Linked DNA regions of Homo sapiens: all the other regions are linked to region 2. The links are contacts of gene promoters, found by promoter capture Hi-C in blood cells and fetal thymus (Javierre and others, 2016). All regions are on one chromosome and are shown on one strand. The core of a region is centred on a gene start or on the middle of the fragment in contact, and the rest is flanking DNA. Distances in the headings are between cores, read along the strand shown.

What was found. Contacts are between HindIII fragments. The CHiCAGO score rates a contact against its expected background, and 5 or more counts as called.
Region 1: a contact is called between the fragment with the promoter of FBXO42 here and a fragment that was not itself captured in region 2, in 3 of 17 cell types (total B cells, erythroblasts and naive B cells). The highest score is 7.4, in total B cells.
Region 3: a contact is called between the fragment with the promoter of MFAP2 here and a fragment that was not itself captured in region 2, in 2 of 17 cell types (naive CD8 T cells and activated CD4 T cells). The highest score is 5.4, in naive CD8 T cells.
Region 4: the fragment with the promoter of CPLANE2 here is called in contact with a fragment that was not itself captured in region 2 in 3 of 17 cell types (total B cells, erythroblasts and naive B cells); the score reaches 9.0 in total B cells.

Annotation. Positions count from the first base shown.
Region 1 is chr1:16,350,656-16,357,774 of GRCh38, reverse strand. FBXO42 (F-box protein 42) reads left to right here and starts at 5,295. Exons shown (of 10, transcript NM_018994.3): 1 at 5,295-5,520. RefSeq lists an enhancer at 5,256-6,030. The HindIII fragment of the contact is 4,914 bases long and covers 2,021-6,934 here.
Region 2 is chr1:16,612,629-16,619,176 of GRCh38, reverse strand. NBPF1 (NBPF member 1) reads left to right here and starts at 5,613. Exons shown (of 18, transcript NM_001405701.2): 1 at 5,613-5,839. It also overlaps the pseudogene CROCCP2. RefSeq lists enhancers at 1-624, 4,812-5,769. The HindIII fragment of the contact is 158 bases long and covers 2,129-2,286 here.
Region 3 is chr1:16,977,321-16,984,290 of GRCh38, reverse strand. MFAP2 (microfibril associated protein 2) reads left to right here and starts at 3,671. Exons shown (of 9, transcript NM_002403.4): 1 at 3,671-3,704; 2 at 5,977-6,054. The coding sequence starts at 6,018. It overlaps LOC105376806 (a long non-coding RNA gene), which reads right to left. Exons shown (of 2, transcript XR_947003.3): 2 at 6,496-6,622. RefSeq lists enhancers at 4,390-4,895, 4,896-5,403, 5,404-5,909. The HindIII fragment of the contact is 10,178 bases long and covers 3,465-6,970 here.
Region 4 is chr1:16,234,971-16,241,916 of GRCh38, reverse strand. It overlaps CPLANE2 (ciliogenesis and planar polarity effector complex subunit 2), which reads left to right and starts at 4,734. Exons shown (of 5, transcript NM_030907.4): 1 at 4,734-5,286. The coding sequence starts at 5,175. It also overlaps the pseudogene MT1XP1. RefSeq lists a silencer at 4,677-4,856 and an enhancer at 4,697-5,241. The HindIII fragment of the contact is 3,895 bases long and covers 3,936-6,946 here.

The DNA.
Region 1 (7,119 bases), core at 4,046-6,545, 260 kb after region 2:
GCACTTTGAGAGGCCGAAGTGGGTGGATCACCTGAGGTCAGGAGTTCAAGACCAGCCAGGGCAACATGGCAAAACCCCATCTCTACTAAAAATACAAAAATTAGCTGGGTATGGTGGCACGCACCAGTAATTCCAGCTACGCAAGAGGCTGAGGCACGAGAATCACTTGAACCCAGGAAGCGGAGGTTGCAGTGAGCAGAGATTGTGCCACTGCACTCTAGCCTAGGCAACAGAAGCAAGACTCTGCCTCAAAAAAAAAAAAAAAAAAATTATGGCCAGGTGCAGTGGCTCATGCCTGTAATCCCAGCACTTTGGGAGGCCAAGGTGGGTGGATCATGAGGTCAGGAGATCGAGACCATCCTGGCTAACACGGTTAAACCATGTCTCTACTAAAAATACAAAAAATTAGCTGGGCGTGGTGGCAGGCACCTGTAGTCCCAGCTACTCGGGAGGCTGAGGCAGGAGAATGGCGTGAACCCCAGAGGCGGAGCTTGCAGTGAGCCGAGATCATGCCACTGCACTCCAGCCTGGGAGACACAGTGAGACTCCGTCTCAAAAAAAAAAAATTTGTATATATTTATAAATATATATATTAATATTGTATATATATATGACCATACGTATCACATGGTCTGGCACATAGTAGGTGCTCACTAAATATTTGTTTCCCAAATGCCCTCTTAGTTGCCAAATTCCAAGTTCATTCATTCAACAAATATTTAGTGAGTCCCTACTATGTGCATCTCTATGTCAGGTGCTGGTGGAAAACAGACAAAAATCCCTGCTGTCCTTGAGTAAGAAGATTCAGGGTGAAGTGATTCTGTATTTGAACGTATTCTAACATGGTCCAGCAGTTCCAACCCTGACTGCTCAACAGAATCCCTGAGGAGCTTTCAGAAAAGTCTGAGGCCATTGTTTGAGGTGGGCCCTGGAACCTGCATTTTAATTTATTTTTGTAGAGATGGGGTCTTGCTATCTCGCTCAGGTTGATCTCAACTCCTGGCCTCAAGTCAGCCTCCCATGTCAGCCACTGAAAGGGTTGGGATTACCAGCGTGCAACACTGCAACTGGCCATGGAACCTGCATTTTTACTTTTACTTATTTTTTTTTTTTTGGAGACAGAGTCTCACTCTGTCACCCACGCTGGAGTGCAGTGGCATGATCTCAGCTCACTGCAACCTCCACCTTCCAGTTTCAAGTGATTCTTGTGCCTCAGCCTCCCGAGTAGCTGGGATTACAGGCACATGCCACCATTCCTGGCTAATTTTTGTATTTTTAGTAGAGACGGGGTCTTACCATGTTGGCCAGGCTGGTCTTGAACGCCTGACCTCAAGTGATCCACCTGTCTTGGCCTACGAAAGTGCTAGGATTTTTTTTTTACTTTTTTTTGTTACTTTTACTTTTTTTTTGAGACAGAGTCTCGCTCTGTCACACCAGGCTGGAGTGGAGTGATTATAGCTCACTGCAACCTCAAACACCCTGGCTCAATCAATCCTCCTACCTCAGCCTCCCAAGTATCTGGGACTATGCAAGCTACTCTGGAGGCTGAGGTGGAAGAATTGATTGAGCCCGGTTGGAAACTTCCTTCCTCAAAAAAAAAAAAAAAGTAGCATTTAATAGCTGGTCCAGTGTTTCCAATATTGAGCTCTACAGGATATTTGGAGGGGGAAGAGTGGAGTTGGTCACAAGTTCTAGTAATTTTTTTTTTTTTTTTTTGAGACAGTCTCGCTCCGTGGCCCAGGCTGGAGTGCAGTGGCACAATCTCAGCTCACTGCAACCTTCACCTCCTGGGTTCAAGCAATTCTCCTGCCTCCACCTCCCGAGTAGCTGGGATTACAGGTGTGTACCACCAAGCCTGGCTAATTTTTTGTACTTTAGTAGAGACAGGGTTTCAGCATGTTGTTCCCATGGTGGTCTCGAACTCCTGAGCTCAGACAATCTGCCTGCCTCGGCCTCCCAAAGTGCTAAGATTACAGGTGTGAGCCACCGTACCCGGCTCAGTTCTAGTAATTTTTAAGCTTGAGGTTTTTAATGACATGATTTAAAAACTAGATTTAAAAACCAGATTTAAAAATATTTCCTTTACCAGTTATAATTGCCCAATTTCTCTTTTGCAGTAAAATTTCCTAGTTGAAAGACTTGATTTTCTTTATCTTTTCTTTTCTTTCTTTTTTTTTTTTTGAGAGGGAGTATCGCTCTTGTTGCCCAGGCTGGAGTGCAATGATGCGATCTCGGCTCACCACAACCTCCACCTCCCGGGTTCAAGCAATTCTCCTGCCTTAGCCTCCCGAGTAGCTGGGATTACAGGCATGTGCCACCACGCCTGGTTAATTTTGTATTTTTTTTTTTAGTAGTGATAGGGTTTCTCAATGTTGGTCAGGCTGGTCTCGAACTCCCGACCTCAGGTGATCCGCCTGCCTCGTCCTCCCAAAGTGCTGGGATTATAGGCGTGAGCCGCCGCGCCTGGCCAAAACATGATTTTCTTAAATCAATGTTTCTCCCACTGGGATTCCCTGAGTGTATCCCTAGGGGACTTTGCATTATTCAGGTTTGAAGAACGTAAGAATATACTGCTTTCTATTTATTTATTTGAGATGGGTTCCCTCTATCACCCAGGCTGGCGTGCAGTGAGGTGATGATAGCTCACTGCAACCTCCAACTCCTGAGCTCAAGCAACCCTCTGCCTCTGTCTCCCAAGTAGCTAGAACTACAGGTACACATGCCACCATGTCCAGCTAATTTTTCAACTTTTTGTAGGGATGGGGTCTTGCTATGGTGCCCAGGATGGTTTTGCATTCCTGAGCTCAAGCGATCCTCCCCTCTTGGCTTCCCAAAGTGCTGGGCTGACAAGTATGCACCACCGCCTCTGGCTCATACAGCTCTCTATGGGTAAGGGTGACCCAAGTCTGCTCAAAGAGGCCTTGCCCTCCAACTTGAGGGGAACTTGGCTTCTGGCCCAGCCCTATGCCCCATGAGATTTCCTAGGAGGAAACTTTGTAAAATATTTGAAGAGATTTATTCTAAGCCAAATATGAGTGACCATGGCCCATGACACAGCCCTTGGGAGATCCTGAGAACATGTGCCCAAGGTGGTTGGGAAGCAGCTTGGTTTTATACATTTTAGAGAGACATGAGACATCAATCAAATACATTTAAGATATATTAATACAGGGCCAGGTGCAGGGGCGTATGCCTGTAATCCCAGCACTTTGGGAGGCCGAGGCGGGTGGATCAACTGAGGCAAGAGTTCGAGACCAGCCTGGCCAACATGGTGAAACCCCGTCTTTACTAAAAATACAAAAATTAGCTGGGTGTGGTGGCACATGTCTGTAATCCCAGCTACTCAGGAGGTTGAGGCACGAGAATCGTTTGGACCTGGGAGGCAGAGGTTGCAGTGAGTGGAGATCACACCACTGCACTCCAGCCTGGGCGAAGAGTGAGACCCTGTCTCAATAAATACATAAAAAGGCCAGGCGCCGTGGCTCACACCTGTAATCCCAGAACTTTGGAAGGCCGAGGTGAGTGGATCACGAGTTCAGGAGTTTGAGACCAGCCTGTCCAAGATGGTGAAACCCCGTATTTTCTACTGAATTTTGTATTTTCTACTGAAAATACAAAAATTAGCTGGGCACGGTGGCGGGCGCCTGTAATCCCAGCTACTCGGGAGGCTGAGGCAGGAGAATCGGTTGAACCCAGGAGGCGGAAGTTGCAGTGAGCGGAGATGGTGCCACTGCACTCTAGTCTGGGCGACAGAGCAAGACTCAGTCTCAAAAAAATAAACAAATAAATAAAAATAAGTAAATAAATAAATAAAAACTACATTGGTTCGGTGCAGAAAGACCGGAAACTTGAAGTGGGGGCTTCCACATTATAGGCAGATTTAAACATTTTCTGATTGGCAATGAGTTGAAATAGTTATTATCAATAGGCCTGGTGCGGTGGCACACGCCTGTAATCCAAGCATTTTGGGAGGCCGAGGCAAGTGGATTACTTGAGCTCAGGAGTTTGAGATGAGAGTGGACAACATGGCGAAACCCTGTGTCTACAAAAAAAATGGAAAAATTAGCCAGGCATGGTGGTGCCCGCCTGTAGTCCCAGTTACTCAGGAGGCTAAGGTAGGAGGATAGCTTGAGCCTGAAAGACAGAGGTTGCAGCGAACCAAGAACTCATCACTGGACTCCAGCCTGGGCAACAGAGTTAGACCCTGTCTCAAAAAAAAAAAAGTTATTATCAATAGAAATGAATGTCTGGGTTATGATAAGGGATTGTGGACACCAAAGTTTTATCACGCACGTGAAGCCTCCAAGTGGCAGGTGGGCTCCAGAGAGAACAGATTGTAAATGTTTCTTACCAGTCTTAAGGTCTGTTGTGTTGATGTCAATGCTGAAGGATGTAATGAGGCATGTCTCATGTCCTGCTTCCCGTCATGGCCTGAACCAGTCTCTCAGGTTGGTTACATTTTAGACTGCCCTGGCCTAGGAGGAAGTCCGTTCAGATGGTTTGGTGTTGGGGGGGGGGTGGGGGCTTAGTTTTTTGTTTTGTTTTGTTTTGTTTTTTTGGCTTACAGAGTTTAGACTGAAGCCTTTGACTCTGTATCTGGCATTTCCTTAGACCACATGCTGTAGGGCTGGGCTCATGAAGGTTCTCACCTACACACCAGGTTGCTCCCTTGAGAAGGGGGACTTTGCTGGATCCTATAACCTAGCTAGTAGGAAGTAAAGGAGCTTGGGAACCAGACAAGCCTGAGTTTAAATCCTCTTTCCCGCGCCGCCCCACCTCCACTGATAGGTGTGTGACTCCGGGCAAATAAGTGATCGTTTTCTGTGCCTCAGTTTCCTCATCTGAAAAGTGGAGCTAGTAAGAACTCACAGTGGTTGCTACGAGGCTACGGTTAAGGGAAGACTTCTCCTGCACACCTCAAGCACAGTTTCCCTCCCCTTGGCGATATCCAAGAGCACTCACATCCGCCACAGCCCTCTCTGCTCATCGGGCCCTCGGGGTAGAAGTGAGTTAATTCCTGGCTAAATGTTAGTCTCAAACCACCGGGAAAACCACCCAGTTGCCCCAGACAGTGCAGCGGAGGGTGGGTGCGGCTATCAGGTCGACGCTAGAGACGCGGCGAAGGCGGGTGCGGAGGCCTAGCTCCCCCGAGCGCATTCCACCCTCCACAGAACCTCGGCCTGTGACCACGGCCTTTCTCAACACTGCGCCGCCCCCTGGCCGCCCCTCGCCATCCCGCCGCGCTGACGTGAGTGCGCGCGCGTCCGCCGCGCCCGCCCCGGCGCATGCGCGCTCTGCGCTGTCTTCTCCCGGCCTGAGCAGCAGCAGCTGCGGCGGCGGCGGCGTTTGAGTGGAGGAAGATGGCGGCTCCGGGCGGCTCGGGGTCCCGCCAGCTGTGAGGAGCCCCGAGCACGGCTGTCGCGGCCTGAGGCAGAGCGCCTCTGCTCTGGCCCTGTCCCTGGCTCCCTCATTACCGTCGCCAGCGGAGCGAACCCGAGAGCGTGGAGCGGGCTGGGCCAGGTGAGGCCTCTCCTCCTCCCCGGGCCGCAGAGGGGAGCCGGCGCCTTCTGCCCTTTATGCCCGGGACTGGCAAGGGGCAGCGGGCGCCCGGGGTCTGACGCAGGCCCCGTATCCCACGCGGGGGTCGGTCCTGGTTGGGCAGGGTGACTTGCTATCGCCGTCCTCGAGTGAGGCGAGGAGGAGGACAGCTCCTTTCCAGCCAGCCCTTGGGTTGGGAGCGAACCCACCCCCTCTCCTCAGCAGGGTGGTTCTCGTCCCCTCACCCGGGCAGTGAAGGGGTGTGTGGCCCGGGCAAGGATGGCTTTAGGGTGTCAGGTAATCTTTCATCGCTCCTCCGAACATTTCACTCCTTTGCGAGAGAGGAGTCGGGGGTCGGGTGCCCATCAAAATTGGGGCTGCGGCTGGGGGCTAGCATCTCTGAACCTGCAGCTGCAAAGGGATAATTTTGGAATTGGTTTACGTTAAATAAAACACAAAAGGCCTTTCCTATCCCCTAGCTTGTTGAGTGTTCCCTTAGAGAAATGGGAACTGCGGATCTCCTTGCTTGAGACAGCAATCCATGCTGTGACTGTGGAAGGCTTCTCTTGGCGAGAATTGTGTGTGCAAAGGGAACGGTGGAGGGTGGGAACGAATTTGTAAGCGAAGAGAAAACGATTGTGAGATCTTGATGGTCGCTGCAGAGTAACTTCAGCGCTGAGTTCGTTTGAAACCTTCGGTTTGTTAAGATTCAGAATAACCAATTGCTTTGTCTGTTAAATCTCCCGATTTCTGTTAGGAAAATAAAAGCCTCATTTCTTAATTGCCAGAGTCTGGATTTTTCTGTGGTGGGATTCTGATCGATCTAGATGAAGATTCTGACACATTACCAGTTTTACTTGCTGGCAGTTGCTGGCCCCGACGTTGAAACTATGTTGTTCCTTTTTGAGAACAACTTTTATTGCTGTTTAAATGCTAATTGGGAGACTTCGATTGTGTTTCTGTCATGTAGGGAAGTCGGTTTGAAGCCTTGTGGTCTCTTTCTTGAGGAATGATGGCTTCACTGAACTTGTGCTATGCAGAATTGTTGAGGCGATTGCTTTTGCTTGGACACACCAAAATATCTTTTGTAACAAATTGGCTTTACTTCTGCTTAAGAATGATGACATCATGGATTTAAAGAGGCAAGGAAAATTTGGGGGAAGTACCATCATTTAGAATTGAATATTTAGAATTAAGTCTGTATATCTTATGGCCATTAGTGATGCTGTGTTAAATTGCTAACTTTGAGTGTATTCACGTGTGTAATCTGATTGGGTGTCTTTTCTATTGTATGTTGTCATTTTATACCCAGTAACTGTTTGCTTTTGACAAGCCAGTATAAATAGATGATTCAATCTACATTGATCCATAGGCATGTTGCGTATCTTAAAAAGCTTTTCATTGTTAAAATGACAACTGTTTAGGTTATTATTTGACCATTTTCTTTCTTTCTTTCTTTCTTTCTTTCTTTCTTTCTTTTTTTTTTTTTTTTTGCAGTTTCTCACTCTGTCATCCAGGCTGGAGTGCAGTAGCACAGTCTCGGCTCTCTGCAATCTCCATCCCCTGGGTTTAAGCGATTCT
Region 2 (6,548 bases), core at 958-3,457:
GGCAGCAAGAAGCCTGAGCATGCCCCCAGGACCAGCCCATCCCCCAAGCCCTTTGTCCCCTGCCTCTGCCCAGGCCTTGTCTCTGAAGGAGTCTGAGAAGATGGCGCTGTCAGAGAAGTTGATGGGTACACGGCACAGCCTGGCCACCATCTCCCTGGAGATGGAGCGGCAGAAACCAGATGCCCAGAGCCGGCAGGAGCAGGACCGGGTAGGCCTGCCGTCGTAGGGAGGCTTGCGGAGCAGGAGCGCCCTCTCTCCACCGAGCTATCCCGCGGTTTCCAGCATCCCATCTGGCGGACTCCTCTTCCTCTCTCTTCTCCTACTCTGGGTCTTCTATCCTGGTGTTCCTTGAATGCCTATCTTCCTTTTGTGCCTCGGAACCTCTCACGCCTGCCACAAGTTACTCTTTTCCTTGGTAGTTCTGAACTTTAAATAAGGTAATGCCTGTAAGAATGCCATAAATGCTCAATAATTGTCATCTGTTATTATTTTCATCAGTAACATCATCTGAATCATCAGTATTGTCTGCTTTTAACAGCTGCATTTTTCATTGTCCAAATATAGTCACATACATTTGACCATTTTATAATTATTGAATAATAAATTTGTTCTGCTATTTTACAATGAAAAATAATGCTGCAGAGAGCATTTTTGCACATGTATCGTGGCAGATGTAGGCCAGAGGCTCTTCTTTTATCCATCCTATGGCCAACCTATGAATGTATACACGTTTAATGAGATTTTGCCAGCAATCAAAGCCTTCAGGGAAAATGTCCCTAGCTCTTTACTACATCAGATCAAGGACTCTGGATAATTGGCATAACATCCTGGAATAGCTGAAACAGAGATATTATTCTCTGCTCTCCTCTGTTGTCTTTGTCTTTTCACGTCTTAATAAAAGTGCTGGTGACAAGAGTGTAACTATGTCAGTGTTCTCCTGCTGTCCTTGCCTGTGTGGGTCTTCTCCCAAACCCGACTTTCCTCCAGCGGCTTCACTGAAAAAGAGGAGGGGGCTGTGGGGGGTGGGTCGGGGAGCAGAGGAGGAAATAAACTGGATAGGGAGGAAGCTTCTCACAGGCCCGGAGAGGGTAAGGAAGGGAGTCAAAGACAGAATTTTCTTCAGCAAACAGTAAAAGGGGAAATCTGGGGATGCTAAGAGTTTTTAAACCCTTTGCTCCATCACATAAGTAATCCATGATTTTCTGTTCCACAAATCAGGACTCCTACTCCTCCCTCCCTCCCCATCCCCAATCCTGATTCCTGTTTACAAAGAATGTTGAAAAACAAGGAATTATGTATAACAGTTCCCAGTTTGCTCAGGAAATTCTCAGATTATAAAGAGACATTACAAATGAACAAGTGAAGAGAAGAACCTTGGTGGTTCCAACATAGTATGGCCATTGTTTTATACTCAAAATATAGAAAGACAACCTCAGAATAAGAAAACTTTTGGAATGGAATAAATCAAGTTTATCATTAAAATGCAAAGAAAAAAACTCTCCAAATGTTGCTGATCTTCTATTTTAAACTACTGTTAGACCGGAGAAGCGGAGAGCAGGGGAATCCGCCAAAGAGTTTTGGATGAAAATTAATCAGCCCTGTCTACCGTAGTCACACCCCACTGCCCTTGAGACCCAATCCTTCGGAAGGAGTGTCCAAGAGGTATAAAGCAAAACGAAAAAACAGTTCGCAAATTCCAGAGTTCGTTTTCTCTCATTAAAAATATAAATATCAGGCTAACACATGTTGACACACAATAACAGGGACACAGAATCCCTCCTGGAAGACCGACGGGCCCACGGACCCCACGGGTGCCACGGTGGTGGACGAGGTTAAGTAACTTGGTTCAGGGTGTCTGGGCACACCTCTGCGTGAGACTCTGTCTCTGCTGCTCCTCTCATCTCTACGCCGATTCCTCCCCACAATCCTCCCTTTTCCTTGGGCCCCCGACGCCTCTCCGACCAACAGTCTCCCCAGCCCCGCAGCTTCTCTCTTTCAGACCTTTACTTCTTGATCCTCACTCCATAGTGAGATGTGGCCTTTCAGCAAATAAATTGTGCTCAGGGAGACTGAAAGAAAGGGGTAAACCAGGATTAGTGCTGCAGGGTCAGAGCTAATGACACAAGCTTCTCTCCTCAGGCCTATTCATTTGAGATGCATCTCAGGCACTTAGGCACAGCAGTGCTAAGTTAGTACCAATTATATACATGCACACATAAATATATAAAAGCATATAAATATTACATATGTAAATATAAATTGTACCAATAAAATCGACATCAAGCTTGTTTTTAATCATTCACTCAAAATACATTGAACAGCTACTGTGCAAAGTCTTGGGACTGCTTAGAAACTTAAGACAAAAATATTGGGCCTGTAGTCCCAGGTGAAGCCTAGGCAGGAGGATGGCTTGAATGAAGGAGTCCAAGTCCAGCCTGGGCAGCATAGTGAGACTCAGTCTTTTTTTTTTTTTTCTCTGAGATGGAGTCTCACTCTGTCGGCCAGGCTGGAGTGCAGTGGCACAATTTTGGCTCACTGCAACCTCCACCTCCCAGGTTCAAGCGATTCTCCTGCCTTAGCCTCCTGAGTAACTGGGATTACAGGCACGTGCCACCACACCTGGCTAATTTTGTATTTTTAGTAGAGATGGGGTTTCACCATGTTGGCCAGGCTGGTCTCGAACTCCTGACCTCAAGTGATCCACCCACCTTGGCCTCCCAAAGTGTTGGGATTACAGGCATGAGCCACCGTGCCCGGCCGAGACTCAGTCTTTAAAATAATGAAGTAAAATAAAAACATAAACCTCAAACAAAAAGACAAACTATGATTTCAATCATTGTGAAGCTCTTGATCTAGTAGATGATATATATATATATATATATACATATACCAAAAATACTATAATTTCAGAGAAGTGCTATAGAGTCTAATGTTTAACAACTTCTGGCATTTGACTGATGGTGTTTAAAGCTCTTCCCGCATTTTCCAGGGGTATAAATCGAGGCAAGTTATTTGGTATTTACTGCATTTTGGCTTCTTCATATGCAAGGGGGTTATGATAATAATACCTACCCCATGAGGACGGTATGAGGACTAAAGAAAATCGTGTATGTATAGCCTCGGCCAATGCCCATAGACACTGAGTACTCAACTAGGTGTTAGCTAGCAGATTTTAAATTTGCATTTATTCGTATAGTTTTTAAGGTAAAATTTACATTCATTGAAATGTTAACTGTATGTTTTTTGACAAATGAATACACTTATATAACTCATATCCCTATCAAGACAGAGACCATTTTTACCACCCAGAAATTTCTCTCATGTAACTTCCCAGTCAATCCCCTGCCAGAGGGAACCACTGCTATGATTTTTTCACCACAGATTAATTTTCCCCTTTCTAGAATTTCAAATAAATGGGAAGGTATGTGCTCTTTTGTGTCATTTATCTTCACAGACTTTGAAATAAAAAAGTTACAATTTTAAACCTTTTGGGCATTTAGTAAAAATCTCCTTCCCACCAGTAGCCACCAGTCACCAGTCTTCATTTCTCTCTCTCTCTCTCTCTCTCTTTGAGACAAGATCTTGCTCTGTCATCCAGGCTGGAATGCAGTGGCATGATCATGGCTCACTGCAGCCTCAACCTCCTGAGCTCAAGCAATCCTCCCACCTCAGCCTCCCAAATAGCTGGGAGTACAGGTGCCCGCCACCACGCCTGGCTAATTTTGCTTGTATTTTATGTAGAGACAGGGTCTCACCAAGTTGCCCAGGTTAGTCTCAAACTCCTGAGCTCAAATGATCTGCGGGCCTTGGCCTCCCAAAGTGCTTGGATTACAGGTATGAGCCACTGTGCCTGGCTCAGTCTTCCTCTCTTAAAGCAACCAATGTTATTAGTTTTATGTGGGCCACCCCATGGCTTATCATTATTAATTCAGGTGTTTATACAAGGCTCTTTGAGAACTCAGTTTTAAAGGTTACCCAAAGCATCCTAAGACAACTCAGCCTAAAACGATATAAAATCAGTTTTAATATAACTGAAGTTTCTACATTCTGACTCCAACTGTCAGATTGTGACATTTTCTCTTTCTCTGACTTTATGCCAAATTTACTTCAACTTCTAGCATCCATCATTCTCATTTATGAACAAATATGTATTTAACAAATGTGGAAATACAAATCATGAAGCAAACAAAACCAAACCCTGGGCTTACGTAGCCGATAGTAAAAAATTCACCAAAATAACCACCCGATTACAGTTTCATGCAATGTGATAGGAGTAAGGGACCACCATAGGGAGGTCAGAAGGTGCTTTTCAGAGGTGGAGACTACAGCTGTTCTCAGAAGAATAGGGGTTAGAAGAACTTTCCAGGCACAGAGCAAAGCATGAGCAAAAGCTCTGTGGAGGCCAGGAAGCTGGTAAATAGGGAATAAAAGAGGCCAGTTTGGCTGGAGCAGAGAGAGCAGAACAGAATTGGTCTGAGTAGTGAGAAGAGATGAAGAAGTGGGCAAGGCGCCTGGCCATTCGGGGCTTGGTTAGTTAGGAGGTTTTGTCTAAGAGAATGGGAAGGTGTTTAAGTGCTTTAGGCTGGGAAGTGACACGGTCACATTATATTTTGGAAAAGCCACTCTGCCTGTTGTGTTGAGATTAGAGAGGCGATAAAGGGGATATGGGTAAACCACAAGAAGACTAGGTCAGTAGTCCCTCGACCCTCACTCCCCAGGTGAAGGCAGCCTAGACTAGGGTGGTGACGGAGGAGATAGAAGAGGACAGATTCAAGGAAAATTTGGAAGGTAAAAACCAGTAGGATTTGCTGACGGATGGAGTATAGGAGGGGAGAGGTAGATTATCAGGGATGTATCTTAGTTTTCTTATACAAGATAGATTCAGTTGCAATGAAATTGTTAACTGAAATTGACTTTAAATAATGGCATGACCTAAAGTTATGCAAACATTTGCCTTAGATAAAATATCAAGTTTTCAAAGTTTTTAGCTGGGTGGACGGCATGGCTTTACTTCCTATTTCTTGGTATTCTAATCCTGTTGAAAAAAAAAGTTTTTCTTTTTCTCAAAGGCTTATTTCAGTGGAAGCCCATCTGCAAAATCTGTTAATAAATTTAAATTAGAAAATAACTACAAGTGCCATTGACACATTGGTTATTCTTTTTGAGAGTGACCTAAGGCCACCTCTGGGAGAGCTGGGGGCTCTTCTGAAGCCTGCCCGACTGCACCGCGTGCCCGTGCCTGGAAGTCAGATTCGGGGCGGTGCGGCAGCGCGAGGCCTGCAGTCCTAAGCGCGGGGTCGCTCCAGCCCCAGAGGGGGTGTGTCTCCTGCCTCTTCAACCTGGCAGGGGCTGTTCAAGTGGCCGGGGAAACCAGCGATTTGGAGGGTCGAGGGCTGGTGCTTTGAAAGACAGGCGGAGGGGAGAGAGGGATTTCCCCGTCCCCGCTGCACTCGGTCCTTCCCCTGGGTTACTCCTTTCCTCCGCCTGCGCGGCCCCTAACCTGCTCGAACCCGTTGTGCAGAAGAGGCCGCCGGGTCCCTTTAAGGCCCCGCCGCGCCTGCGCCTTGGGTTATCCTGACACGCCCATCGGGATCCTGAGGAGCCAGTGGGCTGCAGGCGCAGGCGCAGGCGAGGGGCTGGGTGGCGGTTGAGACAGCGGCGGTACTGGGAGGCGTAGGTGAGGGTCGCGAGGCTGCCCGAGCTTCTGAGCGAGCGCGGTGCTTTTGGGAACGCGGGACGGGCGATCTGCGGCGCCAGGAGCTGGGCCGAGGCGCGGCGGCGCGGCTGCCGGCTGCCCTGTGAATGGGAAGTTACGCGAAGTCCACCCAGCGTTTCTGAGGTGAGGGCGCCGCGCCAGGCTGGGCGGGCGGTGAATCCGGGACCCGCGGGCGCACAGCTGGGTCGAGGCGCGGCCGTGGCAAGTTTTGTTGCGCGAGCGCGGGGGCGGGTGGGGGCTGTGGGGGGTCGTGCACCGCCGGGGCCTGAGTTCCCCGCGCTGGATTCTTCGCCTGCCGCTGCCGCCCGCAGCCCAACTCTCGTGGGCGCTGGGGAAGAAACTCGCTGGCGGGTGTTCTGTGGCATCCCAGGGGGTGGAGGGACGGAGCAGCTTCGGGGGCACGTCCTCCTATATCCTGTAGAGGACACTGACCCCGCACCCCACCCTCCAGGCCAGAAATCCGTTCCCTCTGCGGACCTGAGAGGCGAGCGCGCTCGCGCCCCTGACTTGCAAAGTTGGGGTCTTTACTGGCCTCCGGGCTTCTGCTCCTGGCGGTGTCTCCAGGCTGGTGATGGGCAAGCCAGGTGTGCCAGCTCCAGGATGCACATGAGCAGCATTTGTAGCCATCACTGAATCACCTCCTGACTAGCGGGGCAAGCCTCAAATGAACCGCAGGATTTCGGGTAGATTGGATTGTGGGGTTGCTGTTTGCACTCCAAAGAGTTGCTGTGATTTCCCTGCGTCTGGCTGGCTGGCTGGCTTCTTAGATCATCTCATGTGGCGTCCTTTCAGCGGAGAGTTAACCAAGACGTTTGGCCTGGCTTCCTTGTTT
Region 3 (6,970 bases), core at 2,422-4,921, 360 kb before region 2:
TGTTGCCCAGGCTGGAGTGCAGTGGTGCAATCGTGGCTCACTGCAGCCTCTACCTCCCCAGGCTCAGGTGATCCTCCTACCTCAACCTCCTGAGTAGCTGGGACTATAGGCCAGCACCACCACACCCAGCTAATTTTTGTATTTTTTGTAGAGATGGGGTTTTGCCATGCTGTCCAGGCTGGTCTCAAACCCCTGGGCTCAAGCGGTCCACCCGCCTTGGTCTCCTAAACTGCTGAGATTACAGGTGTGAGCCACTGCACCCAACCTCCCTCCTTTTTTCAAGGGTAGGGGACAGCATTTCTGCTGGGTGAGTTCCTCTCTTTTGCCAGTGGGATTGCTCCTGGCAGCAGTGGGGTCTAAGGGCAGGCAGAGAGGGCTGGGCTGGCCTGGCCTGAGGGCCCACCTCTCTCCAGGTGACAAAAGTCTCTGCTGCCCTGCAATAGACACTGGGGGGCGGGGCATGGGAATGAAGGAGGCACAGGGCATATTTACTCCCTCCCTAAGACTCAGAGTCTAAGGGAGGTGGGGGAATGACTGGCGATGAAGAGATCAGATGGCAAGGGTCTAAATCAGGGGCCATCCTCATCTCCTCCCAGCCCGCAGCCCCTACAACTCTCACTCCCGCCTCAGGCCTAGGCTCCTGGGCAGGGCTGAAGGCTGCCCCTCACGCAGAGGATCTGCACCCCCAGCCAGCTTCTCCGGGAAGAGTTTAGTGTACAGTTCACTCATTCATTCCACCAATGTTTGCTGAACTGCTGCTCTGAGCCGGGCTCTGAACTTAATGAGCAAAACTGAAGATGAGCAAAAACAGCCTTGGTCCTGGCCTTCACGGGGCAAGATGACAGTCTCATCGGGAAGAGGGACAGGGCTCAGATGGTCACAGACATAGGCCAACAAGACAACTGCAAGCAGTAAAGCTAGAAAGCACAAAAAAAGGAAAAAGGGAAGGCCCCTCTGAGGAAGGGAGGGTTTGATCTGTGACCCCATGGAGGAGACCTCAGCCAGTGCTCGGGAGGAAGAAACGCCTCAGTGTGGGAGGGAGAGGGGTTTGGGAGAAAACCCCCAAAGGCCAGTGGCTGGAGGAGGAAGAGGAGGCAGAGCCAGGCTGCCATAAAGGGCCGGGGCCCTGGAAGCCACAGGGAAGTTGAGCCTCTAACCTGAGTGAAAGGCGATCAGTAGAAGGGGCACGATCTGCGGGGGTGAGGGAGGCAGGACCCACGTGGGAGAGCCCAGAGTGGAGGCTATCGCAGAGCCCAGGCAAATGATGGTGGTGTCAACTAAATAAGAAATCAGCCTTTTGACCAGGTGCAGTGGCTCACGCCTGTAATTCCAGCACTTTGGGAGGCCAAGGTGGGTGGATCAGCTGAGGTCAGGAGTACGAGACGAGCCTGGACAACATGGAGAAGCCTCGTCTCTACGAGAAATAAAAAAAAAAAAAAAAATAGCCAGGCATGGTGGTGGGTGCCTGTAGTCCCCACTACTCTGGAGGCTGAGGCATGAGAATCGCTTGAACCCAGGAGGCAGAGGTTGCAGTGAGTTGAGGATGCACCACTGCACTCCAGCCTGGGAGATAGCAAGACCCTGTCTCAAAAAAAAAGAAAAAGAAAAAATCCACCTTTTGGCCAGGCACAGTGGCTCATGCCTATAATCCCAGCACTTTGGGAACCCAAGGCAGGCGGATCAGCTAAGGTCAGGAGCCTGGCCAACATGGTGAAACCCTGTCTCTACTCAAAAAAAAAAAGCAAAAATTAGCCTGGCATGCTGGCATGTGCCTGTAATCCCAGCTACCCGAGAGGCTGGGTTGGGAGAACCTCTTGAACCCGGGAGGTGGAGGTTACAGGGAGCCGAGGTCACACCACTGCACTCCAGCCTGGGCAACAGAGTTAAACTCCATTTCAAAAAAAAAAAAAAAATCAGCCATTGAAAAAATTAAAGTTAGTTTTATTGAGTCTTACTGAGGACTGCACCCTGGGAGAGGGTTTCAGAGAGTTTCTGTTAGACTGCGCCAAAGCAGCATTTCAGCCCACAGTTTAGATACAGAGGCAGGCGGTTCTGTGTGTGCTCAGAAGCTATGGTCAGGCACGGTGGCTCACGTCCGTAATCCCAGCACTTTTGGAGGCTGAGGCGGGTGGATTGCTTGAGCTCAGGAGTTTGAGACCAGACTGGGCAAACACGGCAAAACCCCTTCTCTACAAAAAATACAAAAAAAAAAAAAAAAAAAAAAAATTAGCCAGGCATGGCGGCTCTTGCCTGTAGTCCCAGCTACTTGGGAGGCTGAGGTGGAAGGATCACTTGAGCCCAAGAGGTGAGCTGTGATGGTGCCACTGCACTCCAGCCTGGATGACAGAGCGAGACCCGGTCTCATTAAAAAAAGAAGAAGAAAAATTTACATCAAATGTCTTCAGAAGCTACACTAGTGCAAATCTCGCCAAGGTTTGGGTTCGAGGATGCACCTAGTTATATAGATTATAGAGGCATAATCGTCAATCCTGTCAGGTGCTATCTTATGTACAGGAAAAGGCACAGCCAGGATCATTTAACTTATATTTTCTAACAATGCAGTGATTCAGGCAAGAGGCGTGGGAGCCTGTGTTCTGCCCTGCCTGCCATCTTCAAGGCATCCTTCCGTTGGGCTGCCCCCAGTCACTGAGTCAGGGCTTTGTCAGCTTCTGACAAGCAGAAAGAGCAAATGCGGTTTCTTGGGATTGCAACTTGGTCTCACAGTGGCTTAGGCCAGGGTGGGAGCAGTGAACGGAGTCACAAAAGAAATTTTTCAGGTAGCATTCACGGGTGGGTGCTGGATTAGATGCAGGGCTAAGGGCAGGGGAGGAAGCCTGGGTAATGGAAGGCTGCGGGGCCAAGGGGGGACTGGGAATCCTGGAGGGCCAGGTCTGGGGGAGAGTTAGGAGGTCGTGAATTTGGACTTGGATGCTTGTTGAAGCTGATGCATCTTGAGGACATTTGTGGGACACATAGGCTGGGTCAGGGCTGAAAGAGGTGCTGGTTATGGCCGGGGGCAGGGACTCATGCCTGTAATCCCAACAGCCCAGGAGGATGAGACAGGAGGAATGCTTGAGGCCAAAATTTCGAGGCCGGAAGTTCCAGACGAGCCTGGGCAACACAGCAAGACCCTGTCTCTAGAAAAGGAAAGAAAGAACCGCTGGTTGTGGAAGCCAGCCATGGCCCAGAGCTCAGCAGTGTAGGAGAGGAGGGTGCGGGCCTGAGAGAGGCAGCAGGCTTGGCTGGAGAGGCAGAAGGAAAACCAAGGCAGGAGAGTGTCCTGGAAGCTGGGAGAAGGCAGAGGGAGATCGAGGCTTACTTTCTGGCTGAGGGGCCTAGGGTGAGTCACTTTGGGAGGCTTGATTTCCTCCTCTGTGAAATGGGCAACACACCTACCCTTGCCCACCTCACCCCCCTCACCCCGTCGACGTCGAGTGAGGAGCAGCTGTGAGGAGGAGGAAGCTTTGCACAGACGTGAGGACGGCCCCGGGCGCCTCTACCCCGGGGACACCCCCCCCCCCAGGAGATGGAACCCCGAGGGCACGGCGTGGCGGCCCATGCGGGCAGCTCGCGTTAGGACCCAGCGGCTCCGGGGCTGGAGGGCGGGCGCCAGCCCCGTCGGGGGCCCGGAGGGGGACTCGGAGCGGGCCAAGGGGCGGCTCCGGCGGGCGGACTCGGAGCGGGCGGCGGAGTGACCCGGACAGGTAGGCGCGGGCCTGGCGCTTGGGGGCCCCGGGGGGCGGTCAGGGGCGTCGGCGGGTCCCCCGGCGCGGGGGCGAGGGTGCCAGGCTCTCTGGGTCCTCGATCCTGGGGCAGCCGCGGAGGTTCCTGAACCCCGCGCCTTCAGAGCGGAGGCCAAGGGGGCACCTGGAAAGTTTGGGGTTGCTCTGCAGAGAGAACGCGAATTGGGAAGGGCGGGGAGCCCGAGTTTGGGGGGAGCCAGAGGTGAGGTCGTCGGGGGATGGGACATCTTTTGTTCTCCCGGGGAGGTTGGAATGTGGCGGGTGGGGTGGGGGGGGGGGGTCCGGTGGGAATGGCCGAGACAGAGACGCAGAGAGACAAAGAGAGATCAGAGACGGGAGCGCGAGGGCGCGCGGAGCAAGTTTCCGCGGCTGATTGTTCCCAGCTGTGCGGCGCTGCAACATCTGGGTTTCTCCCGCCGGGACCCCTCCCCCTGAGCCCGGCTCTGGAGCCGGCAGAGCCCTCCCTCCGTCTGATGTCTGAGCGAGCGTCGGGGCCCCCTGTCCCCCACCTCCCAGGACGCAGGGGAGTCGGGGGTGGGGGAGGCCGCAGCTGTGGAAGAGGCCAGAGGTGGGGGTGGGGCAGCCTCCCAGGCAGGTCCTGGCCTCCCGCACGCCCCAAAACCCCTTCGTCTAGAAGAGCTCGGAGATGTGGTCCCGTGGGAGGAGTTCATGAACTCCACACTGACTTCTCTCTTTCCTGCCTCCCCGCTAGCCCGTGGGCCTCCTTCCCCCAATAAGCCTGGGTTCGGGGGCCAGTCCTAGGGGAGGAAGACTCCCCGCAGGGTACCGACAGGCATCCCCCAACACCTTGCAACCCCTCTTGCCCCAATTCAGCGCCTTCTGCTGAGCAGCGGGGGCTCCGACCGACCTGACGGATGGGGAGAAGGGCAAGGAAGGCTCTCTGGGTCTTTTCATCCCCCTCCCATGAGGAGGTCAAGGGTTTTCAGAATGGGGTGTGGGGAGCCAGCTATCCCTCGCCTCTGGGGCAGCTTGGTCCTGAGCTTCGTCTCCCGGCTCCCACTCCACCTTAGTGAGGTGCCTAATGCATGAGAGGAGCCAGGGGGTCAGGAGGCCTCAGGATTGAGAGGAAGGAGGGAAAGACCTCCTGCTTTCTCCCCTTTCCCTCCCCTCTCCCTGGACTCCCAGTGGGGAAAATAGACCAAAGTTGGGGTTTCCAGCTAGCTCTCTGAAAGGACTTCCTGGGTTGCAGCCGGGAGGGGCCCTCCTGGATGGACCCCGCCCTCGCAGCCCTCCCTACAGAAGGCTGACGGACCTGAGGTGGCCCTCCACTGAGCTGGGGCTGGATGTGGGGAACCGGAGGCTCCCCCAAGTCCCACCGTGTAGCCAGGACTGGAGGCTGGGCTCTTGAATGTCAGGAGCCTGATGAAAGCCACGGACCCCATGCCCTCTCCCTCCAAATGACACACACACTTGCCTACAGTGTCAGGGGGTGCAGAACCCCCAGCCTGGGTGATGTCACGGCCCCTTCAGTGCTGCCTTTCTGGGATCCAGAGGAGCCCCCTCAGGCTTCACTCTCGTGCTTCCTGCTGCTGCAAATAGCCCGGGTCTCGTGAGCCTGTGATGCACACAGCCAGGTCTTGCGAGGCCTGGAGGCCTGGCAGGAGAGGAGTCTTCTGGGAGCTGGGAGCCCTGCCCGGCCTGGCCGCTCTGGGGGCCGGGCAGGCCCATGTGTATGTGGTTTCCTGCTGAGCAGGATGCTTAGGGCCCAGGGGCTAATTGGGAGCAGGTGGTGGCTTGGCAGAAGCTGCTGAGTCCAGGCGGTGATGCCGGCTGGCCAGGGCTGGGGTCCCAAGGATGGGCCTGGGTTCAGTGATTCACGCAGTCAGTGCCTTGGACACCCAGGGAGCCACTGGGCCAGAGGGCTGAGCACGGGTGTGGGTGAGGACAGAATGGCCTGGGCTGGGAGCACATTAGGAATGTCCCCTTAGTGAGCAGGGCAGGGTCCGCCCTTCCCTGACCACATCAAGTACACCCACTACACGGGGTTTGCTTGTCAGGATCAGCCCTGGAGCTGGGTTGGAGGCCTTGTCCCTTGTGACCTGAACACCTGGGTGGGCCAGCAGGGACTGGGATGTCCCTCCACTCCAGCCCTCCCATGCCTGGCTTCTATTCTGGGTGCCACCTTCTCCAGGGCGAAATCAGGGGATCAAAGGTGAGCTCTGCTGTCCTGGGTGTGGCCCTGGGTAGAGCTCTCCCACCGGTCTTTCCCCAGCTGTCCTCTCTGACACCACCCCGGCCTGCCTCTTTGTTGCCATGAGAGCTGCCTACCTCTTCCTGCTATTCCTGCCTGGTAAGTGGCTCCTGGGGCAGGGGGTAGCTCCTCTTATGTGGGGCTGAGGAGTAGGGTTAGTAGGGGGAATTCATAGTGAGCCTTTGTCACGACTTATGACCAGAACTCAGCTCCCCAGCTCCCAGGGCCTTCTGCCTGCTTGGACCACAGACTGGACCAGCCAACCCTGGCAGCATCTGGAGGCAGCTCCTGGCCCTTCCCCCAGCCTTCCACAGCAGCAGGCAGGCAGGGTTCTGGAGGGCACGTCCCAGGCACAAGGACTCCGTGGGCACAAGGCACAAGGCCTCTCTGGGAGCCGATGTGCAGGTGCAGGGGCACCCAAGGCAGGGAGTCCGGATGCTTGAGTTCTAGATCCATTCAGGGCCCTTCTGCTCTATACAGTCCTGACCTTGTGGGGGTCCCTACTGGCCAAATGAAGAGAATCAATGAGGACCACAAAAGTCCTAGCAGGGCCAACATTCATTCATTCAGCAGCGATGTGTTGAGTCCCTACCACGTGCCAAGTGCTGGGCTAGGCCCTGGGGATTCAGCGATGAACCAGGCAGACACATCGTTGCTCCTCATCATGCTGCCAGTCCAGGGAAGGGAGACAAATAGGAAACAAGCAGACATGAGAAACTCCAGCATGTGCTGAGTGCTGGACAGAAATCAGCAGGAGGGCTGGTGGGCTGGAGGTGGGGCGGCATCTTGGCACAGCTGAAATTCCAGGGAAGACCTGAAGGAGCTGAGCAGGCCTCACAGGCCCAGGGAGTGTCAGGTGCAAAGGCTCTGAGGGAGGCAGGAGCATGTGGAGTCCTAGGAGCAGCCAGGAGGCCAGCAACAGGAAGGGGCAGGGTAAGGTCAGGGAGGTGACCCATGACCAGGGTGGGGAAGGGTCTTTACCATCGAAGAAGAGTCTGGATCCTCTAGGAATCTG
Region 4 (6,946 bases), core at 3,485-5,984, 380 kb after region 2:
GGAAGTTGCGGTGAGCCAAGATCATGCCACTGCACTCCAGCCTGGCGACAGAGCAAGGCTCTGTCTCAAAAAAAAAAAAAAAAAAAATCAGAGGGCTCTAGACTAGAAGAGTCCTTAGGGAGATGTTCTACATGTTTTGCTTGAGGCCCTGAAAGGAGAAGCAGCTGGCTTAGGGGGACACATAGTTTAGTGGTCAGAGGGGCACAGGAGAGCAGAACTCATAGACCAACACGGTCCACAAGCGTCCTTCTGAAACGCAGTTCTAACCATGTCACTTTCAGGTCCCAACAGTCAGCTGGCCTCCTTTGCCCAGCAGCAGTGTTTACATGAGGTCTGTGGACCCTGTTATGGACTGAATTATGCCCTGCTCCACCCAAATCCATACATTGAAGCCCTAGCCCCCAATGTGACCATATTTGGAAATAGGTCCTTTAAAGAGGTAATTAAGGCACGCTTTTCATCTGTCCCGCTGAGTGTTTGCCTCTTGATCAGGAACTCCTGCTTCTCCCTGCCTCTAAATGGACCCCAACTGCTCCTGCTCGCCTGATGGTTCCTGCGCCTGTGCCGGCTCCTGCAAATGAAAAGAGTGCACATGCACCTCCTGCAAGAAGAGCTGCTGCTCCTGCTGCCCTGTGGGCTGTGCCAAGTGTGCCCAGGGCTGCATCTGCAAAGGGACGTCGGACAACTGCAGCTGCTGTGCCTGATGCCAGGACAGCCCTGCTCTCAGATGTAAATAGAGCAACCTTATAAACCTGGATTTTTTTGGTACAACCCTGACCCATTTGCTACATCTTTTTTTCTATGAAATATGTGAATGGCAATAAATTCATCTAGACTAAAAAAAAAAAAAAAAAAAAAGGTAATGAAGGGTGAGCATGGTGACTGATGACTGTAATCCCAGCACTTTCAGAGGCCAAGGCAGGCAGATCACTTGAGGCCAGGAGTTTGAGACAAGCCTGGGCAACAAGGCAAAACCGTACCTCTAAAAAAATACAAAAGAAAAAGTCCGGGCATGGTGGCTAATGCCTGTAATCCCAGCACTTTGGGAGGCCAAGGCGGGCGGATCACCCGAGGTCAGGAGTTCAAGACCAGCCTGGCCAACATGGTAGAACCCCGTCTCTACTAAAAATACAAAAATTAGCTGGGTGTGGTGGCAGGCGCCTGTAATCCCAGCTACTTGGGAGGCTGAGGCAGGAGAATCACTTGAACCTGGGAGATGGAGGTTGCAGTGAGCAAAGATCGCGCCATTGCACTCCAGCCTGGGGCACAAGAGCGAGACTTTGTCTCAAACAAACAAACAAAAATACAAAAAAAAAAAAAATTAGCCAGGCGTGCTGATATGCACCTGTAGTCCTAGCTCCCCTCGGGGCTGAGGCAGGAGGATTGCTTGAGCCTGAGGAGGTCGTGGCTGCAGTGAGCTGAGATCACACCACTGCCCTCTAGCCTGGGTGACAGAGTGAGGCCCTGTCTCAAAAAATAAAAGAAAAAGGTAATCAAGGTTAAATGAGACCATAAGCATGGAGCCCTAATCCAGTAGGACTAATGTCCTATTTGTAACAGAGGAAGAGACACCAGACATGTATAAGCACAGAGAAGAGGCCATCTGTAAGCCAGGAAGAGAGGCCCCACCCAGAAACCAACTCTGCTGGCACCTTGATCTTGGACTTCCAGCCTCTAGAACTATGAGAAAATAAATTTCTGTTGTTTAGAGTACCCAGACTGTGGTATTTTTGTTACAGCAGCCTGGGCTGACTCATATAGACCCCAACTTCAGAACTGCCTAGTGCTTTTGTCAAATCTGCAGGCTCACAGACCTACCCAGCCCCTGACACAGAATGTCGGGGTTGGATGTGTGAACCCCAAATATCTGAGACAGGTCACAGTCAATTTAGAAAGTTTATTTTGCCAAGGTTAAGGATGTGCCCGTGACAGCCTCAGGAAATCCTGAGACATATACCCAAGGTGGTCAGGGGTACAGTTTGCATTTAAGTTTTAGGGAGACATGAGACCTCAATCAATATGTGTAAGATGTACATTGGTTTGGTCTGGTAAGACAGGACAGCTTGAAGCAGGGGCTTCCAGGTTAGAAATACATAAGAGACAAGGCCAGGTGCAGTGGCTCATGCCTATAATCCCAGCACTTTGGAAGGCTGAGGTGGGCGGATCATGAGGTCAGGAGATCCAGACCATCCTGGCCAACATGGTGAAACCCCGTCTCTACTAAAATACAACAACAACAAAAATTAGCCGGACATGGTGGGGCATGCCTATAGTCCCAGCTACCTGGGAGGCTGAGGCAGGGGAATCACTTGAACCTCAGAGGCAGAGGTTGCAGTGAGCCGAGATTGTGCCACTGCACTCCAGCCTGGGCGACAGAGTGAGACTCTGTCTCAAAAAAAAAAAAAGTAGATAGGAGACAAAAGATTGCATTCTTTTGAGTCCTTGATCAGCCTTCCACTGAATACATAATTTTATTTATTCAGCTCTGTCACCCAGGCTGGAGTGCAGTGATATGATTCTGCTCACTGCAACCTCCACCTCCCAGGTTCAAGCGATTCTTCTGCCTCAACCTCCAGAGTAGCTGGGATTACAGGCGCCTGCCATCACAGCCAGATAATTTTTGTATTTTTAGTAGAGACAGGGTTCACCATGTTGGCCAGGCTGGTCTTGAACTCCTGACCTCGGGTGATTTGCCCGCCTCAGCCTCCCAAAGTGCTGGGATTACAGGCGTGAGCCACCGCGCCCAGCCATTTTTTTGTATATTTTTAGGGATAAGGTTTTGCCATGTTACCCAGGCTGGTCTCAAACTCCTGACCTCAAGTGGTCCACCAGCTTCAGCCTCCCAAAGTGCTGGGATTACAGGCGTGAGCCACCGCACATGGCCCCAAGAGGACTTTACATCTTCTCTGGGTTGCAGATTAACAGGCACGTTCATTCTGCCAAGTTGCTTCATTTTCTCACACGCTCACTGAGCCCTCCACGAGCCAAAGATGGGTGGATGTGAAGTCTGGAAATCCAGAAATAATTCAGATCAGAGCCCTGCCACTGAGTGACTCCTGGCCCATGGAGAGAGCTCTGGACAGCTGTGAATCTCCCTGACTGGGCAGATGTGACAGCTGCAGGAATGGGAACCATGTGACCTGGGAGTATGGGCAAAGGATTCCACCTGCAGAATCCTGTAGGAATGGTTATTCATCTGGTTTTTCTGCCTAGCCACAGCGTGAGCAAGTTGAGAGAAAGCACCTTGTCTTACACATCCTCATCCCCTCTCTTAGACATAATGGGCCTTAAAAATCTGTGAGTTCGTAGTCCTCTGGCTGCTTTCTGCTTCCCTAGGAACAGCCCTCCTAGTGGCTAGGGGCAAAGTTTTAAAAACACAAAACCCAAACTGGCAGAACAGATAAGTACTTTAGAGTCAGGTAAGTGTGGGTTCTTTTTTTTTTTTTTTTTTTTTTTTTGACAGGGCCTAGCTCTGTCACTCAGGCTGAAGTGCAGTGGCATGATCTCGGCTCACTGCAACCTCCATTTCCCGGGCTCAAGCAATCCTCTCATCTCAGCCTCCAAGTAGCTGGGACTACAGGCGTGCACTACTGTGCCCGGCTAATTTTTGTATTTTTTTTTTTGTAGAGGCAGGGTCTTACTATGTTGCCCAGGTTGGTCTCAAACTCCTGAGCTTAAGCAATCTGCCCGCCTCAGCTTCCCAAAGTGCTGGGATTACAGGCGTGAGCCACCACACCCAGCCAGCTGTGGGTTCTGAGTCGGTTTCACACTGACTAGCTGTGCGGTGTGACCTCAGACAAGTCACGTTATGTTTCTGAGAGTCTTCGTCAGTACAAGAGGGTAATACTATTTACACAGGTTTGTTTATAGAATTAAATCAGGTGACCCCTGTAAAGTCCCCACTGTCTGGCACTTGGGTGGCCTTAGGTAAAGCTTAACTCCTAAATTATTCCTTTCAAAACAGTGATTTGCCCTACTTGAAGGCATTGCGGAAAGATAATGGTAAAAATTAAATGTAATAGACAAACTCTCAGTAATGACCCACCTGCACTCTTTCCAACCAGTGGGCATTTACTGAGCACCCACCTTCTGGGTAACAGGCCTGGTGTCCAGTGCTGGAACGGTGGAGAGGAGCTCAGAGTTTCAGAGCTGAAAAGTCAGCTCCAGGAGAGCAGGGACTTCTTGTTGGCCACTGTATTCCCAGCTAGGTGCTCAGTATTTGTTGAATGAATGAATGAATGAAAAATACAATCCAGCGGGCCTCTGACTCATTTTTTAAAACTTGAGCCAAGTCCCTTGACCTCTCTGAGCTGGTGTGTGTCCCCATCAGTGAAGCCAGAGATGTTTAAGTCATCTAGAGGTCCTGCCAAGCAGGATTAATAGAGCAATAATATTAATAATAGCAACAATCATAACTAAACATATGGAGCACTGCTATGGAGGGAATAACATGTTACGTCCACGTTATAGAAGAGGAAACTGAGACACAGAGAAGCATGAAAGGCTCCTGGAGGGGGGGTTTCATGATGTTTTGGAAGAAAGACTAGGGATCGGACGGAGTCATAGAGAAGAGGATCCACAACCCAGAGGAAAAGGCCTAGTCCAGAGCCACCGCGCGGCGCAGGCTGCGGACGTTGTAGGAGGGACGAACGCCTCCCGGAACCCGCCCAACCCAACCTCCGGCGTCTCCATGGCAACAACCTCCGCACATGCGCCGCGCGCACCTGCGCCGGAGCTGCCAGCACGCGCAGAAGGCGGACGCAGGCGGGGCGGAAGTGGGCCCGGCGGGCTGGGGCGGCGGGAGTGCGGGTGGGCGTTTAAAGGGGCCTTCGGCACCCAGGTCGGTTCGCCGCCGGGACTGCTGACGGGGAGGGCTAGGTAGCCCTGGGAGTCGGGATCTAGAAGGTAGAGGAGAAGCGGGGCTGTCTGACCCCCGGAGGTGACAAGGGGAGAGGGGCTGTGTGAATACCCTCCATGGGCAGTAATGGGATGACTATCCCCAGGGAGCATTGCGAAGGAGAGAGGCGGCTGAGGGACTGCACTTTCTGGGGCCCCCCGGGAGAGTCAGAGGGCAGTTAAGAGGGATCACAGGCCCGGCTTGGTACTGTCACTCCCCTTCCCACTCCCTGCTCTCAGCATTCTGTCACCTCCCTACCCCGTCGCGGTGCCCAGCCATGGCCAGACCTCCCGTGCCCGGTTCGGTGGTTGTCCCAAACTGGCACGAGAGTGCCGAGGGCAAGGAGTACCTGGCTTGCATTCTGCGCAAGAACCGCCGGCGGGTGTTTGGTAAGTGCCTCCCCCTTTCCTCTAGCCCGCCACTTGTCTTTCCCTGGGGAGAAGAGTGTCACCTGTTGCTCCCTGAGGAGAGCAGAGAGGCAGGGCAGTGAGGGCCTGCTCCACTGCAGTCTTCAGCAGTCTTCAGCCTGGGGGACTGAAAGCCCTAGCTCTGGGACCCCCACACCTAAATCTCCTTAGAGCTAATTCCATCGTCAGAGCCAGGAACATGGAAACAGCAGAAACCTTGCCAGCAACCACTGTCACCAGAGATGCAGTTGATTGAGCACTCCCCTGGTGCCAGGCCCTCTGTTGGGCACGTTACACAGTGCACGCCCATTTAACCTCTCAACAGCACATGGTACAGACTTGGCTAAGATCACACCCCAATAAATAGAGGTGAGCCTCTTCCATGTCCTGCTGTCTCTGGGATGAGACGCTGGTGTTCCCCATGGTGAAACTGACTCACCCAGGCAGGGCCCAGCTGTCAGGCCGGCAGAGGTGCCTGGAATCAGCTGTGGAGCCCAGCTCTGGCCAGGAGAAGCAAGGTGCCAGAAGACTTAAGACCAGAGAGTGAGATAGCTAGAACCAAAATTTGTGAATAAGTCAACTGTTTGTTTGTTTTTTTAAAAGAAATTATATTAAATTCAAAAAATGACCCTCTAGAAGGCTGGGCGCAGTGGCCTGTAATCCCAGCACTTTGGGAGGCCGAGGTGGGCAAATCACCTGAGGTCAGGAGTTCAAGACCAGCCTGGCCAACATGGCGAAACCCCATCTTTACTAAAAATACAAAAATTAGCCGGACGTGGTGGCGGGCACCTGTAATCCCAGCTACTTGGGAGGCTGAGGCAGGAGAATCGCTTGAACACAGAAGGCAGAGGTTGCAGCAACCCTAGATCGAGCCATTGCATTCCATCCTGGGTGACAAGAGTGAAACTCCGTCTCAAAAAAAAAAAAAAAAAAAAGACCCTCTAATATGGCCACTGTCCCTCTAATCCCATGATGGCTGGCAACACTGTATTTGGGGTCACACATACCCAGGCAAGTGACCCAGGCTCCACCACTGCTAGCTGTATGGCTGGGAATAAGTGAACTCTAGCCTCAAGTCCCACCTCTGTAAAATGGGGATAATCACAGTATTTACCCCATAGAGTTACTGGGGAAATTAATAAGGAGGGTGTTTGTAACATACCAAGCAGGTTCTGGCATGCAGTGGGTGTTCACTGAAGGTTGGCTGTTATTGTATTTATTTTGCATTTAGTTGTGTTGAGTGGAAGAGAATTGAGTGAAGGTTGAGCTGATTTTCTGGGAACATCATAGAATCCACTGACCATATTATCTATGCCACAGATAGGATTAAGCAGCCATAACTTAGAGGAATGGCAGTGATGGCTTTTAATTTTTGTGTTTTTACTTTAACTGCAGACATTTGGGTTTTTTTTTAACAGCTGGGTTTATGCACCTGAATGTATCATTCAGTGGTTGTCATGCAGGCCCCACAACAAACGCTGAGAGCAGCTAGTAAATAAATATCAACAGACTGACTATAATGCTTAGGCTAGTCTCTTTGTATCCCAGACTTCTGTAAAATTAGGTTGAGTATTAAGAGCCACAGATGAGGCCGGGCACGGTGGCTCACGCCTGTAATCCCAGCACTTTGGGAGGCTGAGGC